6 separate regions of the Homo sapiens genome follow, and regions 2, 3, 4, 5 and 6 are each linked to region 1. The links are contacts of gene promoters, found by promoter capture Hi-C in blood cells and fetal thymus (Javierre and others, 2016). All regions are on one chromosome and are shown on one strand. Each heading gives the region's core, a stretch centred on a gene start or on the middle of the fragment in contact. The rest is flanking DNA. Distances are from core to core; before and after follow the strand shown. Region 1 holds the start of MITF (melanocyte inducing transcription factor). Region 2 overlaps MITF (melanocyte inducing transcription factor). Region 3 overlaps MITF (melanocyte inducing transcription factor). Region 4 has its middle 160 kb from the start of FRMD4B. Region 5 overlaps MITF (melanocyte inducing transcription factor). Region 6 overlaps MITF (melanocyte inducing transcription factor).

Region 1 (2,631 bases), core at 55-2,554:
GCCTCTTTAGAATTTTCTCCTAGGACAGTCATTTAGTTTATTAATTCTGAAAGGCCAAACACCAAAATGAGATGTTAATCTGAAAGGAATAACTTCAAGACCTAATAAAGAATGACCACTGAGCAGAGTTTTTATAGATTGCAAATCACTTTCTCTTACATTTGACCTTGCAACATCTTCTAAAACTGGTTTGCCAATCTCTTCTTTTATGGATGAAGAAATGGAGGCTTCTAGGAACCAAGTGACATGCTCAGGATTGCACAGCTCTTCTTAGAAGGACTGGGGATTTCAACTCTGAGTCTTATACCTTTAAATGCCACTGTAACTCTATACTGCCTCCCTGATGCCTCAAAACACTTTTGAAAAGAAGGAACACGTCCTACTGGAGCTAATCAGAGGGAAGAACTAGAAGTACAAATGAGCCACAACGGAGAGTTTTAAAATTCTCTTCCCTAAGTGAGTTCCGGGAAGCTCGGGAAGGGGTGGACACTTGTACAGTTCACTTGTACATCTTCACTCCTGAAATGCTAGGACAAATCTCATTTGAACTCCCAGTCAACTGAGAAATTAAAAGCAGAGAGCAACGACGCTATTTTGTAACTTTGTGCCTTTTAAAATTAACCGAATCTTTCAATTGCTGCTGTAGATTAGAAGTGGCTACTTGGATAAAGGGGAAAGAGCCATTCAACTGATGAATACTATTGTAAAAGTCCAGACTTAGTTCTAGAAAAGGAACGCACAAGAACAATTTCTCCAATAACGTTTTCATTACAGAGCGAAGGAAAGTTCTTCCTCGTTGTTCCAATCCGAGGACAAGCTGATATGTCGCAGCAGCCCAGGGAAGCATGCGAGCTGATAGGAAGTCCTTTTATTTTAAGACAGGCTCGAATGCTAAAACTTTCTTGTGCCAAAACCCTTGACTATTTTATTTTTAAAATAAGCACTTGGCGTGCCCTCGCAGATGTCTGAGCTGAGAGGTCGGGGCGATGGTAGAAGAGCAGTCAGTGTCCATTCTTATTCATATTAAGTAGCCAAGTCTGTACCCTTGAAGCAAGTGGGGAGAGAGGAGGGAGAGGAGCTGCTGACATTGACAATGAATCCAAACAGGAGTTGCACTAGCGGTGTCCACCACGTTGCCTCTCCCCCGCCTGGCCTTCTGGGAGCTGTAGTTTTCGTGGGAGCGGCTCCCCAGGCGAGCTGGGAATGCCCCGCCCGGGCCGAACTACAGATCCCAGGCGGCGCTCGGCCGCCAGCCCCTCCCGCCCGGGTGCGAGTGTAAACTCCCCGCGCTGGGGCGGGCGGCCGCGAGCCGGCGAGCGGGCAGAGCTCGGCACTGCGCCGGGGCGCACGGCTCGGGGGACCCAGGCCCAGCTACCTTCCCTCCGCCCCCGGGCTCTGTTCTCACTTTCCAGCAGTGGAAGGACGGGAAGCGGGAGCCATGCAGTCCGAATCGGGGATCGTGCCGGATTTCGAAGTCGGGGAGGAGTTTCATGAAGAGCCCAAAACCTATTACGAACTCAAAAGTCAACCGCTGAAGAGCAGGTGAGTGGTGACAGCTGGGCAGAGGCGCACCGGGCGGCTGGGGGGCACTGCGTCTGCCACTCTGGGGCGAGGAGAGCGGGTCGCGGGAGCTCTGGGACAAGGACCCAGTGCCCTTGCCCCGGAGCAGAGGGCGAACTGCCCCTCGCAGTTGGGGGCCGCGCCTGCCCGGCCCAAGTGCGCCTTTAGGAAGCTCGGATGGAGCGCACTTCGCGGGGGCGCGGCGGGTCGCCGGGGACGAAGCGTCCAGGCGCGGGGACCCTCGGCCGAGGATGCCAGCTGCTGAGACTGATTGGGGGCTGGGGAGCGACCTGGCGCGATGTGGGGGAGGAGGAGCGCCGGGCCGGGACGCTGTCCCGGTGGGATGGGGGAGAAAGAGTTCTAGTGAACCCCCTTTCTGAAGATCCCAGCGGGTTGAGGGCTCGGAGAGGGAGAGCTTTGGGTGGACTGAGATGCGACATTGGAGGGAAGCAATTAGTTCGCTTGGAGTCACCTCTTGGGAGTCCGGTCTCTGTGGGGAAACTAGCCTCTGGGCTCCTGCAGGTGAGGTTTCTCTGGGCTCCGCCTCTCACCTCCAGACCGCTGCTAGCGGGCGCGGGAGGGGCCAGGGCAGCGGTGGGCGTGTCCCCTTGTTCAAGTTAAACTCTCTGGAAATAGAGTCCCATTCAAATCCAGGCCTTACCTGCAGAGGGGAAATGAGCCTTGGTCTTGGGGGTTACTGGGAGTGTACCCCGCTTGGCAGAGACACGTGTTTAATTCGCTGGGGACTTCAGAAACTTTTTAGACGAGGAGTGAAGACATCCACTGCTCTGATGCCCCATCCCCTCTAGTGCCCACTTCCCTTGAGCCACCCTTTTTGCTGCCTCCATTCCCACTTGTCTGTCGAAATGGATTGGGTGTCTTCCGTTCTCTCTGTCCGGCAGCCACTCTGGACGCCTCGTACTTCTCGTTTACAATGTTTCCTAAAAGGGACATGGTCAATGGAGGCTGGAATAGCTGAGAAGGGTTTATTTCCACCCCTCTAAGCTGTGAGCTAGGATAAGGCTATCATTGGAAGCATCCAGCAGGGCTTCTGCACTCGGCTGTAACTTC
Region 2 (2,631 bases), core at 73-2,572, 230 kb after region 1:
GAAGTGCCTTAAATATAGCAGTAGTCTTTTTTGGACTAGCACTGACTGAACTGTAATGTAGGGGAAAGTTTCATGATGGTATCTATAGTCAAGACGAACATGTAGCATGGTGCCTATGTAGACAATATAAGAGCTTCCAATTTTCCTTCAGATATTTTTAATATTAAATATATTTTAGTGACAGAGTGCCAACTTCTTTCATCAGGAAACCTTATTCAGGAGGGTTTTTAAAAAGTGTTTAAATGTCAAATGTGAATTGGTGATGGGTGATGGAGGGTTCAGAGAGGAGTGATCGTCAGATGTGTGAATGGACGGTTTAGGTGAAAATAATCAACTGCATAGTTCCCATGCACGCTGGGCAATGAGAATCCTTGGAAACATTGGTGATGCTATCAGTTTTATAGCTTTATTTCTTAAGGGGGTAGGGAAAATTAGTTCCCATTCTTTCAACCCCCTTAACTGTATAGCTCTTTTCCTAGAATAGTGACGCAAATCTGCATGAACAGCTAATTGTACCATAGTGTTCATTGATACAATCATAGCATTGTCTATTTTTCTCTTCATATTTATATGGGGGGGAGGGCGCTGGATGCAAAAGTTGAAGATCGTGATGCTATGATGTTAGTTTTCCTTAGCTGATTTTGAGGGTTTTTAAAAATAAAGCAAGGTTGACTAACCTACGGCCACGGGAACAGGACCATGGTTAAGCAACCATATAGAAAGCTTTGTTGAAAGAAAGTATGGCATCTTGTACCACTGCCCTGACTGTCACAACTCCTAACCTTGCCATTGCCTGCCTCCCCCTCCCCTTCTCCTTAAGAGACAATTTCTGCAGGTGGCAGGTGAGCAAGCCCAGGAGAATGCTGCAATCTTGGGGGTGGTTTTATTTATTTCTTTTTTGCCAAATAGAGTGTGGATTCATTTCAGGGGCTAGCTAAGCCAAGAGGCAGTGGTTTGGGCTTGTTGTTTGTAACAAGAAAATGATCCACACCACTCCCCCGATTCCCGGGTGCAGAATTGTAACTCGGGGTTGGGCCTCTATATGGAGTGACCAAAATGCCAAAATTGTCCATCTGCCTCTGAGTAGGGCAATGGAAATACCAAACCTTCTGACTTTGCCAAAAAGCATACAAGCAACCTGGTCATACATAGGATGACAAAATTCTTTCTGGTTGTTTTTAAACAATAAAGCAATAAGAACAAATACAATACATAGGAAGTTAAAAGCACAAAGGAATGAACTTATTAATATTTTTGAAAAATGCACTGGGAAAAAGTTGATGTCAATAACAGTATAAAACAGCCCTATTTCTTGATAAAAAATGACAAATGACTGTCTCTTGCGGATGCTTGGTACTGTAATGTTAATAATAGTCACCTGCTGTTGGATGCAGCAATAATTTCTGTATGGTCCATAGCACTGTATATTATGGATCGATATTAATGTATCCAATGAAATAATCGACTTGTTCTTGATAGCCTCATTAAAGCATTTGGTTTTTCACATAGTGGTGGCCTATTGTGTTAATGCCAATTTTGAATGCTATCTGCCATATCAAAAAATGGTAGTGCACATTTTCTTCTGATTTAATGAATAACAAATTGCATGAAAATTTAGAAAATGCCAGTAAGTACTTTTTTTGTTTAAAATGCCACTCTAAGATGTTACTTTTTGGTTTTAAACATTTTTGATTACTTTTTGACTTACACTCAGATGAGGTGTAATTATGCACCTTTTTTATCCCCCTCTGAATTTGGGGAGATTTTAAACTCCCAAATGCCAAGACTTCATTTTAGATATAGGAGTTTTATTTAAAATGTTTCATTGAGAGGTGGCTTTAAAAAAGAGAAATTGTCAGAGAAACCCTTGCATATTTACAGAAAAGATATTGGGTTTTTAAAATACAAATTTACAATAATGAAAGCTTAATATACCCAGGCTGCCAGCTCCTGGTTGCCTTTTTTTTTTAATACACTACTTAAGAATCATTTGATAAATGTTGGATTTGAATTGGGAAGTGTCAGACAAAACATGTCTTTATTCCCTAGCTAGACCTTAAACTTCTGCCCTTTTAAAAAATATATTCTGGCTTAACCTCTGGAGAAAATGAGCAAGAAACTTCCTGTAATGCTTCTGATCTGACTGTCAGCTTTTTCCTACTTTTAATTTTCTTCTTAAATTGTAATATACAATAATCAAGGCCTTTCTTTTTTAGACCTATTTGAATTATTTATATTTTCCCTAGAAGTATAACTGTAGGATCCCTTAAAAACATGTAAAAGTAGAAAGATTTCCTTTTGGAACAAGAGAGAATATTCTGGGCAAAATCAAAAGCAAGTAAGTTGAAAATTGGGGCTTTTCATCTCCGGGGGATCTGCAGCAATACCTTCACCCACATTTCTGTCCTGATATTTACCAGTAAATAGTCATTTCACAGCCCATAAGAATCCTTCATCTTTAGCTTCCCCCACTTACACACAGACACACACACACACACACACACACACACACACACAATTAACGTGTTATAGTGGTGTTACCTGAAGATTAGACATTTGCCTACAGTGTGTATGACTTCATTTGATATCCACAGAGTTACATTTCTTAAAATTTTATTAAGCCAATTCACT
Region 3 (2,631 bases), core at 56-2,555, 210 kb after region 1:
TGAGCTGTGATCACACCACTGCACTCCAGCCTGGGCAAGAGGAATGAGTCCTGTCTCAAAACAAAGCAAAACAAAACAAAACAACAACAACAACAACAACTTAAGAATCATTGAAGTGGAGGGTATGTAAGTCATGCTTCTGTGTGAGGAAAAAAAAACTAGAAAATGATTTGAACTGACCATCACAACTGAAAGAATTCAACTTCTGAGTTATATATATATATATATATATATATATATGCACACACATACACACACACACATAGATATGCATATATATGCATATATACATGGATGTATGCATATAGATATGCATATATACATGGATGTATGCATATAGATATGCATATATACATATATAACACCCATATAATAAATATATATGGTGTGTATATATATATATATATATATGCTTCAGTGGCTATAAGTTATGCTAAAAAGATTTCTATTTTGAGATAAAATTCTAAATTATGGTAGTGTAATGCTTCAGCTATCACTTCTGAAAAGGAAATAACAGAGCTTTCTGGATCCCCAGATTGGTCAAGTAACATGTTTTGTTTTGTTTTTAATTCTGTTTTGTTTTGTTTTGTTCTCTGTAAGGCAAAAAGTAATCTCTTATCCCAGAGATGTCACAAGAGTTGCTATGCAAATAGAGCTTTCCAATTGCAGTTGCCACCAAATGCCTCTATTCCTATTTTGTTTTTATAGACTCAAGCTAGTAAATAGTGGTTCCTAAGTTATTAGATGATTTCATTACAGCAGGTTTTAACAGAATCTGGCACCAACTTCTGAAAAAATGAGTTCATTCTATGAAGTAGTGAACTAGTTAGAAGAGACAGAGATCCAATTTGGCAGCTTTTTTTTTTTTTTTTTTTTTTGAGACAGGGTCTCTCTGTGTCTCCTGAGCTGGTGTGCAGTGGTGTGATCACGGCTCACTACAACCTCGACCTCCTGGGCTCAAGTGATCCTCCCACCTCAGCCTCCCGTAGCTGGGACTGCAAGCATGCACCACCATGCTGGACTTATTTTTTTTTATTTTTTGTAAAGACCAAGGCTGATCTTGAACTCCTGGGCTCAAGTGATCTTTCCACTTCCACTTCCCAAAGTGCTGGAATTACAGGTGCAAGCAACCATGCTGGGCCACTACTCAGTTTTTATATCAGCACGTTACACAGGCATCAAAAAAGGATTGAAAGCTTCTATGGCCTGAAAAGAAAATATATCAGACCCCTGATAATAGAGTATCAACAGCAAATTGACATAGTTTTCTAATTATCGATTTCTTTCTTGCTAGTATCTGTATATGTTTACAGTGTGCTATATATAATTTTTACCAGGGTTTTTTTTTACCATTTTGTGGAAGCCCAGTTTTTACATATTGTATATATGATATATATATTGCTTTTGAAAACATGCAAGCTTTTTAAAAAGATATCATTTTTAAAAAAACGTATTTTTACTTAGAGTCAAGTCAAATAAGCTTCTGTATGTTTGGGAAATGAGATATTTTGTAGTTTACATTTTGTGCAACTTCAAACAGTTCCAACTTCTAATGACTTCATTCACGTGCACAGCGTGTATTTTTCCCACAGAGTCTGAAGCAAGAGCACTGGCCAAAGAGAGGCAGAAAAAGGACAATCACAACCTGAGTAAGTTGGTTTTATTTATGTTCATGACATTTGATATTAATGTTCCCCATATATCAAAAATGTTTCCAGAAATTCTGTAGAGGAGAGTTGATTCCTACAGCTGTTAAAATTCTCTCTTATGGAAGAAAATTGTATTTGACAGAAACCAAGGTATATATTTTCCCCATATTTTATCTCAGATCAAATTGAATTTTGTATATATACTTATTTTCAGTTTCTGAAGAGTTTTTATTTTTCTTGTTTCTAGTAGTGGTTTTCTCTCTCTCTCTCTCTCTTTTTGGTAAGAGGGAGAATTGATCCCCAACTACCCAATTATAAGTGTTGCTCACACTGGAACTTATTAACAAAAGGGGATTAGGGAAGCACCTTCTCCAATGAGATTTGAAAGAAAAAGAAAGAAAGAAACAGATCTGAAGGGGAGTAAATGGATGAGGCAGCCTCCTAAATTTCTGACATGATTCGTGACTTAAAAAAAATAGCCCTAAAGCATTTAAAATATTTTTTACGTGTTTAATTTACTCTTGATCAAATCTTCAAGTTGTCTCCTACGAATACTTTAATTTTGGTTTAATATAAACATGTAAGACAAGTTGCACAGATTTTTTTAAAAAGGGATTGGGCTTGGAGGTAGGAAATTGTGTGTGAATTTCTCATCTCATGGCCTCATGTCCTCTGTTTCTTAAATTGATTTTTAAGAATGTGAGTCATATATAAACACTTTCTCCTTATAAAAATGATAGAATAAGGCCAGAGTTCCCCTTTAGTCCCCAGGAATATGCGTGTTGGTTTCAATTTGGCATTGCTCTTCCTGACCTTTTTCTGTGTATTAAGAATATAGACACATGCACACAGAAAATAAATCATATGGATTTCTATATGTTTTAACACAAACGGTATCATATTGTCCATTTTATGTTGATTTTTTTCTACTAAGCAGCATGTTTTGAAGACCTTTTGCTGTTAGAAATCTAGATCTATCTAC
Region 4 (2,631 bases), core at 92-2,591, 190 kb before region 1:
CATGATAAATGCTTAATAAATACTAGCTATTATTATTAAAGGACAGAGGCTGATTTCTTTCCAAATTCCATCTTCTGAAAAATAAATATTTATAGAATAAATATTTATAGAATAAATATTTATAGAATAAATATTTATGGAATATTTATGGAAAACAGCAAAATTAAAACCACAACACAATTGAACCTGCAAAAACTTTTTTTCCTTTATTTTATCCTAATATAGAATTATCAACCTGGCTGCATATTAGAGTTCTGGGGATGTTTTTTCTTTATTTGTTTGTTTGTTTTCAATACTGGAAACAATTATATTAGAATCTCTGGGGGTGGAGTTTGGGCATCAGGATTTTCTTAAAGCTTTGTAGGTGAAATCATTATACAGTAGGGATTGGAATCACCGAAATGTCCATAGGATGTCCGTAGGAACTACCTGAAACCTACTCATGGACTACGTATTTGGATTCTGTATTATAGACTTGGCTGCAGGAACCACATCCAGAGGGAAAACAACACATCCTTTACTTTTTGTGTGACTAGTAAATACCTAACTCTAGGATAGGTACTATGCCAAAACAAACAAACAAACACACAAAAAACTGCAACAAACAAGATAAAGGAAATGAGGTTTGTCATTCAGAAGCTCATAATTTAGTTGTTGTGATGAGACAAATATACATGGACAAAGTGACAGCAAGGAGGATGAAGAGGAAACAATTCTGTCTTGAAATATATAATTTCCAGGTGAAAAATCAGGGCCCACACACTGCTGTATATATAATAAAATAGTTTTGATGCAAGAGGGTGTTAGAAATTCCCCAGACCCCCATTTCAAGCCCTCAGTCTTATACAGTATGAAGGAGTGTGACATGAGATTCAGCTATTGAATTAATAAGAACATGTATCATAAATATTTTATTTTCTAAATTTAAAGTTATTTTTATATTTATTTATTTATATATCTGTACTAAGTATAGATATATGCTTATTGGAGAAGTTGTTTTTTTTTTTTTGTTTTTTAAGATGGGGTCTCACTCTGTCACCCAGGCTGGAGTGCAGTGGCGCCATCTCAGCTCACTGCAGCCTCTACCTTCCAGGTTCAAGCAATTCTCTCACCTCAGCCTCCCCAGCAGCTGGGATTACAGGGGTGTGCCACCTTGCCCAGCTAATTTTTGCATTTTTAGTACAGACAGGGTTTCACCATGTTGGCCAGACTGGTCTCGAACTCCTGATCTCAGGTGATCCTCCCACCTTGTCCTCCTAAAGTGCTGGGATTACAGGCATGAGCCACTGCACCCAGCCGAGAAGTTTTTGACAATATAAGAAATACATAAAGTAGAAATGAAAAATTATTTGCAAGTTCACTACTCTGAATAAGCATCTTTGACATACATAGTCCAGACTTTTAAAAATGTACATGCAAACACAAAACATACAAGTCATCTATTATATTGATATGCCATAATTTATTCACCCAAGCCAATTAGTTATCTTTGATTTTTATTTTTCTTTTATGTACAATTTTAAAACCAAGGTTAAAAGGAGGTCATATCATTCCTACAGCACTATCATTTTCTTCAGAGTGTTTCTGCCTTTCAAAGATTTCCTGCTGGTTATTCAAATATGGGATAAGAGCATATATACCGCTTGCATATTTTATAGCTAAAGGCTTGTGAGTGGGCAGACGTTCATTAATTTGTAACAAGAACCCGTGCTCATGTTCATTAAGTGTTTTGCACATGTGGTCTCATTTTATTAGTGACCCTGTGAAGTAATCACCCTTTTTCACTCCATTCTACACATGAGAAAATTAACCCAGACAGGTGAAATGACTTGCTCATGGTCCTATAACTAGCAAGTCAGTAGCTACAATTTGATCCCAGGTCTCTTTGACCCAGCGGGAATGAAGGTCTAGCCCGCCATGCCAGGAGACACATGGTACTTTTGTTGTGAATATAATGACTTGGGTAGATCTCAGTGATTTCTGGATTTTCAACAGACTAAAAAAAATTGAATCACAATAATATTGAACATGTAAAAAAAACCATACTTGTTGCTACTCAGGGTCAATTGTTGTGTTTTCTTTCTAAAGCACTCTTTAGATAACTAAGAACAGCCATCCATTGATATACTTCAAGATATTTTGCTACTTCTTAAAGCGTACCATTGCAGCATATATTTCTGTGTGAGCCCTAGATATACTCTGCACCTTGACGACACAACACACTGTAATCAACAAAAAGGAGGCCCATTATTTCATACCTCCATGGGATGTTCATCATCACTGATGCCTCATCTTTCTATTTAAGCCCAGGGCCTTGAGATGAAATTAAAGCTTTTTTTTCACTAACCTAACCAAGGCTGATGTGTTTTATGCTCAAATGTAGCACAAAATTATTAGGTCATTATCTCCAATCTTTGAATATGTAAATAAACATAAAATAAGGCTTTTTCAAAGTGTACTAATTATGATACCCTGAAATTAAAACAAAATAAGAAAACTTGAATAATTATGTTTAAACATAGACAGAAAGATCATTGGTTAAATCACAGGAAATTGTGTTTCTGTGGATTAAAGGTCAAATATTGGCAACTTCATGGGGTTCAACCTAACATGAAGCTGTTGCTGATTTAG
Region 5 (2,631 bases), core at 94-2,593, 180 kb after region 1:
TCTGGTTTTGTTTGCAAGTATAGTAACGTTCCTTTATTTACTATTTTATCAGACATAAGAGACTTTTAAGTGACACTCTCAGATATCAATAATGCACTCATAGTTGATGTTCGGAATGACTCAGAAACACCAAAAGCAGATTCCTAGTGTGCTTTTTGAAACATTAGAATTGTTCAGCTTCATTCTATATAGTTTTAGGGCATAGTTTATCATTATTGTGTTGAATTGATCGTTCTTGATTTATAGCATAGCTTTTCCTGTCCATCTGACTGTCCAGAACTCAAATCAGTATGAATTCTTGAGTATTGAATTAGGCTATTTACAGTGAAGATGACGTTTCCTGCACCCTCCAATTAGCTAGAAACATCTCCTTTGCATGTCAAGACAAGATGTGAAATAACTCTTGATAACTGTGAATATCAGATATAAGAAGGAAGCATGTCAATAGTTCATGAGATACCTGTGCCATTCCTGGGGCTTGACTAGTTTCTGTGCCTTTTCTGAAATCTGCCACTGAAAGGAGTCGGGAAGGAAATTGGCACAGCCTCTTCTAGGATAGGATTTCTACACTGTGGCATTATTAACACTGGGACGAAAGAGTCTTTGTTTTGAAAGGCTGTCTTGTGCATCGTAGGATGTTTAGCATCACCGCTGGACTCTCGCATACTGGATGCCGGTAGTAGCACCCCCTCCTCACATAGTTATGACAACCAAAAGTATCTCCAGACATTGCCTAAAATTCCTTGAAGGGCAAAACTGCCTGTACAGTTGAGAGCTCCCATCTTAATAGGCAGGAGCACCTTACTGTAAATTTCTGTGTGGGTTACTCTCCCTGTTTCCCCCACCTAACCCTTGGGTTGTAAGCCCCTTGATGATAGAAATGAAGTATTTTCTTTCATGTTGAGGTCTCGCTTTCTTTTCTGTCTACCACACAATATATAGAGATTTGAGGATTGACTATGCCATTGCTTTTTTTTTCAGACGGAGTCTCACTCTGTCGCCAGGCTGGAGTGCGGTGGCACAATCTCAGCTCACTGCAGCCTCTGCCTCCTGGGTTCAGGTGATTCTCCTGCCTCAGCCTCCCAAGTAGCTGGGACTACAGGCATATGCCACCACACCCAGCTAATTTTTATATTTTTAGTAAAGTTAGGGTTTCACCATGTTGGCCAGGATGGTCTCGATCTCTTGACGTTGTGATCCACCTGCCTTGGCCTCCCAAAGTGCTGGGATTACAGGAGTGAGCCACCACACCCGGCCGCCATTGCTTTTTAGTTTTTGTTTTTATCCAAGCCACATAATATAGTGGGTTTTTAACAAAAGGGCAGTCTTGACATTTCTCTTCTTCCCGTTTTTGTTACTGCTTCACAACTGAGTACGTAACAACTGGTACTTCAGTGATACAGTGGCCTATTTTCTTTCTTATAAAAGACATTACTATATCATACAGTATTTTAACCTTTCCTTTACAAATCTCATGATACTGAGATGCCTTTGGTTAACAAAAATTGCCATTGAGTCTGGAAGATTGTTTGTTTGCTGACTGACCAGCCCCCTCATCTCATCCTTCTCACAAAGAAAGAAAGAAAGAAACAAACCCTCAACCCTTAAATTAGTCAAAGTCCTAAGGCAGTTTTCCCAGAACAAATGTCCATATTGACTTTCTCCGTTGTTAGGTCCTGTCCTTGTTGACCCGTTGCTGGCTTGAGGGGCTGATTCTGTTCACTTTGGAATTGGGTAGCGTTTTGGTTTAACAACAGTGTCCACCCAGCGGGGGACCAAATTCTCAGGAGAAGCCTTATTTATAATAAAGCACAAAAACAAATACTCAGAAGAAATAGTGATTACATAGGCCCTCTGAACAGTTTCAAAAGCAGAAATAATTCCGTTGAAAATATGAATCCTGTAAATAACTCATAGTTTGGTAGTGTTTCATAAAGTGATTAGGAGTAAGCCTCAATTTCCTCATGCTGAAAATGGGGATAATAACATCTGCTACTTCGTAGGATTGTAATGAGGATTAAATAAGTGAATCCATTGAAAACTTTCAGAAAAACTACCTGTAACATAGCACTCAGTAATTGCTTTATTTTCTTTCTTTTGGAGATGGAGTCTTGCTCTGTCACCTAGGCTGGAATGCATTGATGCGATCTTGGCTCATTGCAACCTCTGCCTCCCGGGTTCAATCAATTCTCCTGCCTCAGCCTCCTGAGTAGCTGGGACTGCAGGCACACACCACCACACCAGGCTAATTTTTGTATTTTTAGTAGAGATGGGGTTTCACCATGTTGGCCTGAAGTGATCGGCCTGCCTTGGCCTCCCAGAGTGCTGGGATTACAGGCATGAGTCACCACACCTAGCCTATTTTCACTTTTTAATTCTTCTCCTAATTATGAGGAGTCTCTATATCTTCCCATTTTCCTACCTCCTTTAAAATTCCTACCTATATTCTCCAAAGAAGTAGTCTATCCTCTTCCTCTTTATATGCATTATCCATTATTTTTATCACACAAATCCAAATGGGACTATCCAAACCACATATATTGGCCTGGTATAGGTGTGTCCTCCCTTTACAGATTTTTATAGATTTTCAAAAAATTTTAAATCTCTGAGAATTTGCTTTGTAGAGTATGA
Region 6 (2,631 bases), core at 59-2,558, 140 kb after region 1:
TAAATTGTTACAGCTGGACGACATACTCTAACTAAAAATAAGTATTAGGTAAATTTCTCTTTCACTCTGAATATAGTTCCTGTCTATTTAACTTCTGCTTTTTTATATTTCAGTTATATAAACTAGTAAACTATGTCATATAAATAAAAATAAGGAATTATTGCCATAGCTATATGGTTAGGTTTGATAGCTATTTAGACAAATTTTGGTATTCTTAAATGAAGAAACAAATAAGAATACACGATTTTATTAAGACAATATTTTAAGAAAATCAGATAACATTTTTAAAGAGAATATCATATAAGTGATTGCTTCAGATACTTAAAGACTTAGGACTTCATAAATATAGTTGGCTTATTTTCAAAATTTTGTGTATAAAAGTATTATGAAACATTATAGAAAGATAAGTGAGAGAAAGGTGGTTTTTTTTTTCTTTTTTATAGTTTTTAAATCATAAGCATAATTTTGTGAAGTAAGTGGTTAATAGCAAAACAGTTAATATGCTTAATCTTGGACCATTTATTTCTCCATGAATATATATTTTCAAAGAATGGTAATACCAAGTATACTAATTGAGTGCATTATGATACAGATTATATTGAATAAATATTTTCTCATAGTATGGCCTGAGTAAATTCGCTTAATTTTTAAAGGTTTAACTTGCTAAAACAGAACATGCCTGCTTCTCAGTGGAGGTAGATGTATACAATTAGTCACACTTGCATGCACTAGAGAATCTGGTTAAATCTCTCCGTCTCCCAAGTTGTTTGTAAGAACCAGAGGGAAGAAAGGTCATAGTTTAGTTTTCATACACACACAAAGTTAAGTTACCAACATTCTGCTATCTGGATGAATGACTGATTTCAAAAAGCTAAAGCAGTGTTTTCAGGTTAATCCCTTTTTTTGGCAGAGTAAAATTTAAAATATGAAGCTTTATAAAGCATGTTTAAAAGTTATTGACATCTGGTAAACTTAGGACTAGTCAGATTTTGGGTTAGAGATCGAAAATCTGCACCACTCATTCCTCAACGTATAGTCATTGTGCCGTGAGTAAGTTCATGAATCTTTGTAAGATTAGCCTCTGGTTTCTATATTGATTTAATAATATATGAATTTTCCTTCATATTGATTTTCATTTTTGGGGACATGGAATCATGAGTCTTATTGCTATATATTTACATAGTAAAGATATTCTCCAAGTTTTTTAAGAACAACCTTACCCAATTGGGTATTGTAATTTAAGGATGCTCTTTTACCATAAATTAACCAACACCTGGAGTGCATAATGCATTTTTTTGTAATGGTGAACACACCCTGTATTTTGAGTTGTGAATTAACAACAACAAAAAAAAAGTCATCAAGAACCATTAATGGAATCAGTTTCTTCCACAAGTGGGTTTTGCTGACATGCAAGTCATGCAAACCTGAAGTTTGAAATTTGATGTAGCTTTTTTCAAACAAAAACAGAGTAACGGGACAGAACTGTAGGTGAGTTCAGCCTTATAGCTAAAGCATCACGGTACAAACCACCAAGTTAATCATTTATGTAGTCACCAAGCATCTGTTTTCATAGTTTTGTCTCTCTGACTTTGATGAATTATAAAAGCACTGGTCGCTCTCATCCTGGACTAAGTTCATCAGGATTTCTTCCCCTACTACCTTCCCAAGATGGGCTTTGACGGTTGAAAGCTTGAAAACATTAGTTTACAGTTTGAAAATGTTTCTCTGTTCAGAAATCTGAAGGGAGTTGCCAAGGATTCCCCACTACCTCTGTCTCTCCCTCCCTTCCTTTCACCTTGAAATTTAAAATTTTAAAGGCAAAGTCGAAGTGTCTTCTCTGGAACGGATTGTCCCTTGAATTTTTCTGTTCTGCTTAAGGGAAAGGTTGCATGAATTTTAAAAGGAAAAGATTTTTTTTATTACTTTGGGGCATTTCTTAACTACTTTGAAGGAATTTATTTTTAAATTTTCCCTTTTCTCCAAATCATCTCAAGAGTTGCGCAAATTGCTCTGTAATTAGTGATGATGCTTGCTGTTTGTCAAATACAGAAGCACTTTTTCTGGGACCTTCTACATTGTAAACTAAATTTACGTGGGCATTTATTTGGTGGTTATCTCGTCAAAGTTGCCTCTCATTTGTATTGAGATTCTAGCGAGGTGGGCTGGAAGCCCTGCTCCTTGTTACCCTCTTTCAAAAACTGACATTCCATATTTCACTAGTGAGGGGAAGGGTTAATGGCTGAACTACTGGTCTTTCTCTGTAAATTATGAAATCTGCATGGAGTAGAATTTTCAAGGTGTGATTTATTTTTTAGGTATAACACAGAACATGAAAATGTGTGTGGAGTTACAGGTGGATTGGTGGGCTACAGATTGGCAAAAGGGACTTCTCCCACAACCTACCCTTAGATTTTGTTTCTGGTTTATTTAGCCAGGAATACAGACCCTAAATAGCATCATGGTGGCTGCAAGAAGCCAGAACAGATGTAGTGTGTCTCAGATCAGCTTGCCTTTGTCCCCTCAGTTAGGGGATCTGTTGCTAGAGGTGTCACTCTCATAAGGTGAAGACCTGCTATGTCTAAGATTTCTTCTTATAGCATAGTCCATTCACACATGGACCAGCATATACTT

Evidence for each region. The method cuts DNA at HindIII sites, captures the fragments that hold promoters and counts their contacts. A CHiCAGO score of 5 or more calls a contact.
Region 2: a contact is called between a fragment that was not itself captured here and the fragment with the promoter of MITF in region 1, in 2 of 17 cell types (M2 macrophages and M1 macrophages). The highest score is 5.8, in M2 macrophages.
Region 3: a fragment that was not itself captured here is called in contact with the fragment with the promoter of MITF in region 1 in 3 of 17 cell types (M2 macrophages, M1 macrophages and M0 macrophages); the score reaches 7.0 in M2 macrophages.
Region 4: a contact is called between a fragment that was not itself captured here and the fragment with the promoter of MITF in region 1, in 1 of 17 cell types (M0 macrophages). The highest score is 5.5, in M0 macrophages.
Region 5: a fragment that was not itself captured here is called in contact with the fragment with the promoter of MITF in region 1 in 1 of 17 cell types (M2 macrophages); the score reaches 5.5 in M2 macrophages.
Region 6: a fragment that was not itself captured here is called in contact with the fragment with the promoter of MITF in region 1 in 2 of 17 cell types (M0 macrophages and M2 macrophages); the score reaches 5.1 in M0 macrophages.

What each region holds. Positions count from the first base shown.
Region 1 is chr3:69,738,160-69,740,790 of GRCh38, forward strand. MITF (melanocyte inducing transcription factor) reads left to right here and starts at 1,305. Exons shown (of 10, transcript NM_001354604.2): 1 at 1,305-1,542. The coding sequence starts at 1,439. RefSeq lists a promoter at 1-1,441 and a silencer at 1,241-1,540. The HindIII fragment of the contact is 10,451 bases long and covers 1-2,631 here.
Region 2 is chr3:69,966,829-69,969,459 of GRCh38, forward strand. It overlaps MITF (melanocyte inducing transcription factor), which reads left to right. Exons shown (of 10, transcript NM_001354604.2): 10 at 1-1,504. Among named protein-coding and RNA genes, the nearest start is that of SAMMSON, 32 kb to the right of the region's middle. The HindIII fragment of the contact is 1,202 bases long and covers 722-1,923 here.
Region 3 is chr3:69,950,238-69,952,868 of GRCh38, forward strand. MITF (melanocyte inducing transcription factor) reads left to right here. Exons shown (of 10, transcript NM_001354604.2): 7 at 1,575-1,649. Among named protein-coding and RNA genes, the nearest start is that of SAMMSON, 48 kb to the right of the region's middle. The HindIII fragment of the contact is 223 bases long and covers 1,195-1,417 here.
Region 4 is chr3:69,544,847-69,547,477 of GRCh38, forward strand. No RefSeq gene overlaps it. Among named protein-coding and RNA genes, the nearest start is that of FRMD4B, 160 kb to the left of the region's middle. The HindIII fragment of the contact is 1,975 bases long and covers 355-2,329 here.
Region 5 is chr3:69,921,263-69,923,893 of GRCh38, forward strand. The region is part of intron 2 of MITF (melanocyte inducing transcription factor); the gene reads left to right. Among named protein-coding and RNA genes, the nearest start is that of SAMMSON, 77 kb to the right of the region's middle. RefSeq lists enhancers at 773-2,178, 1,228-1,524. The HindIII fragment of the contact is 2,746 bases long and covers 1-2,631 here.
Region 6 is chr3:69,881,222-69,883,852 of GRCh38, forward strand. All of the region lies in intron 2 of MITF (melanocyte inducing transcription factor), which reads left to right. Among named protein-coding and RNA genes, the nearest start is that of SAMMSON, 120 kb to the right of the region's middle. The HindIII fragment of the contact is 758 bases long and covers 930-1,687 here.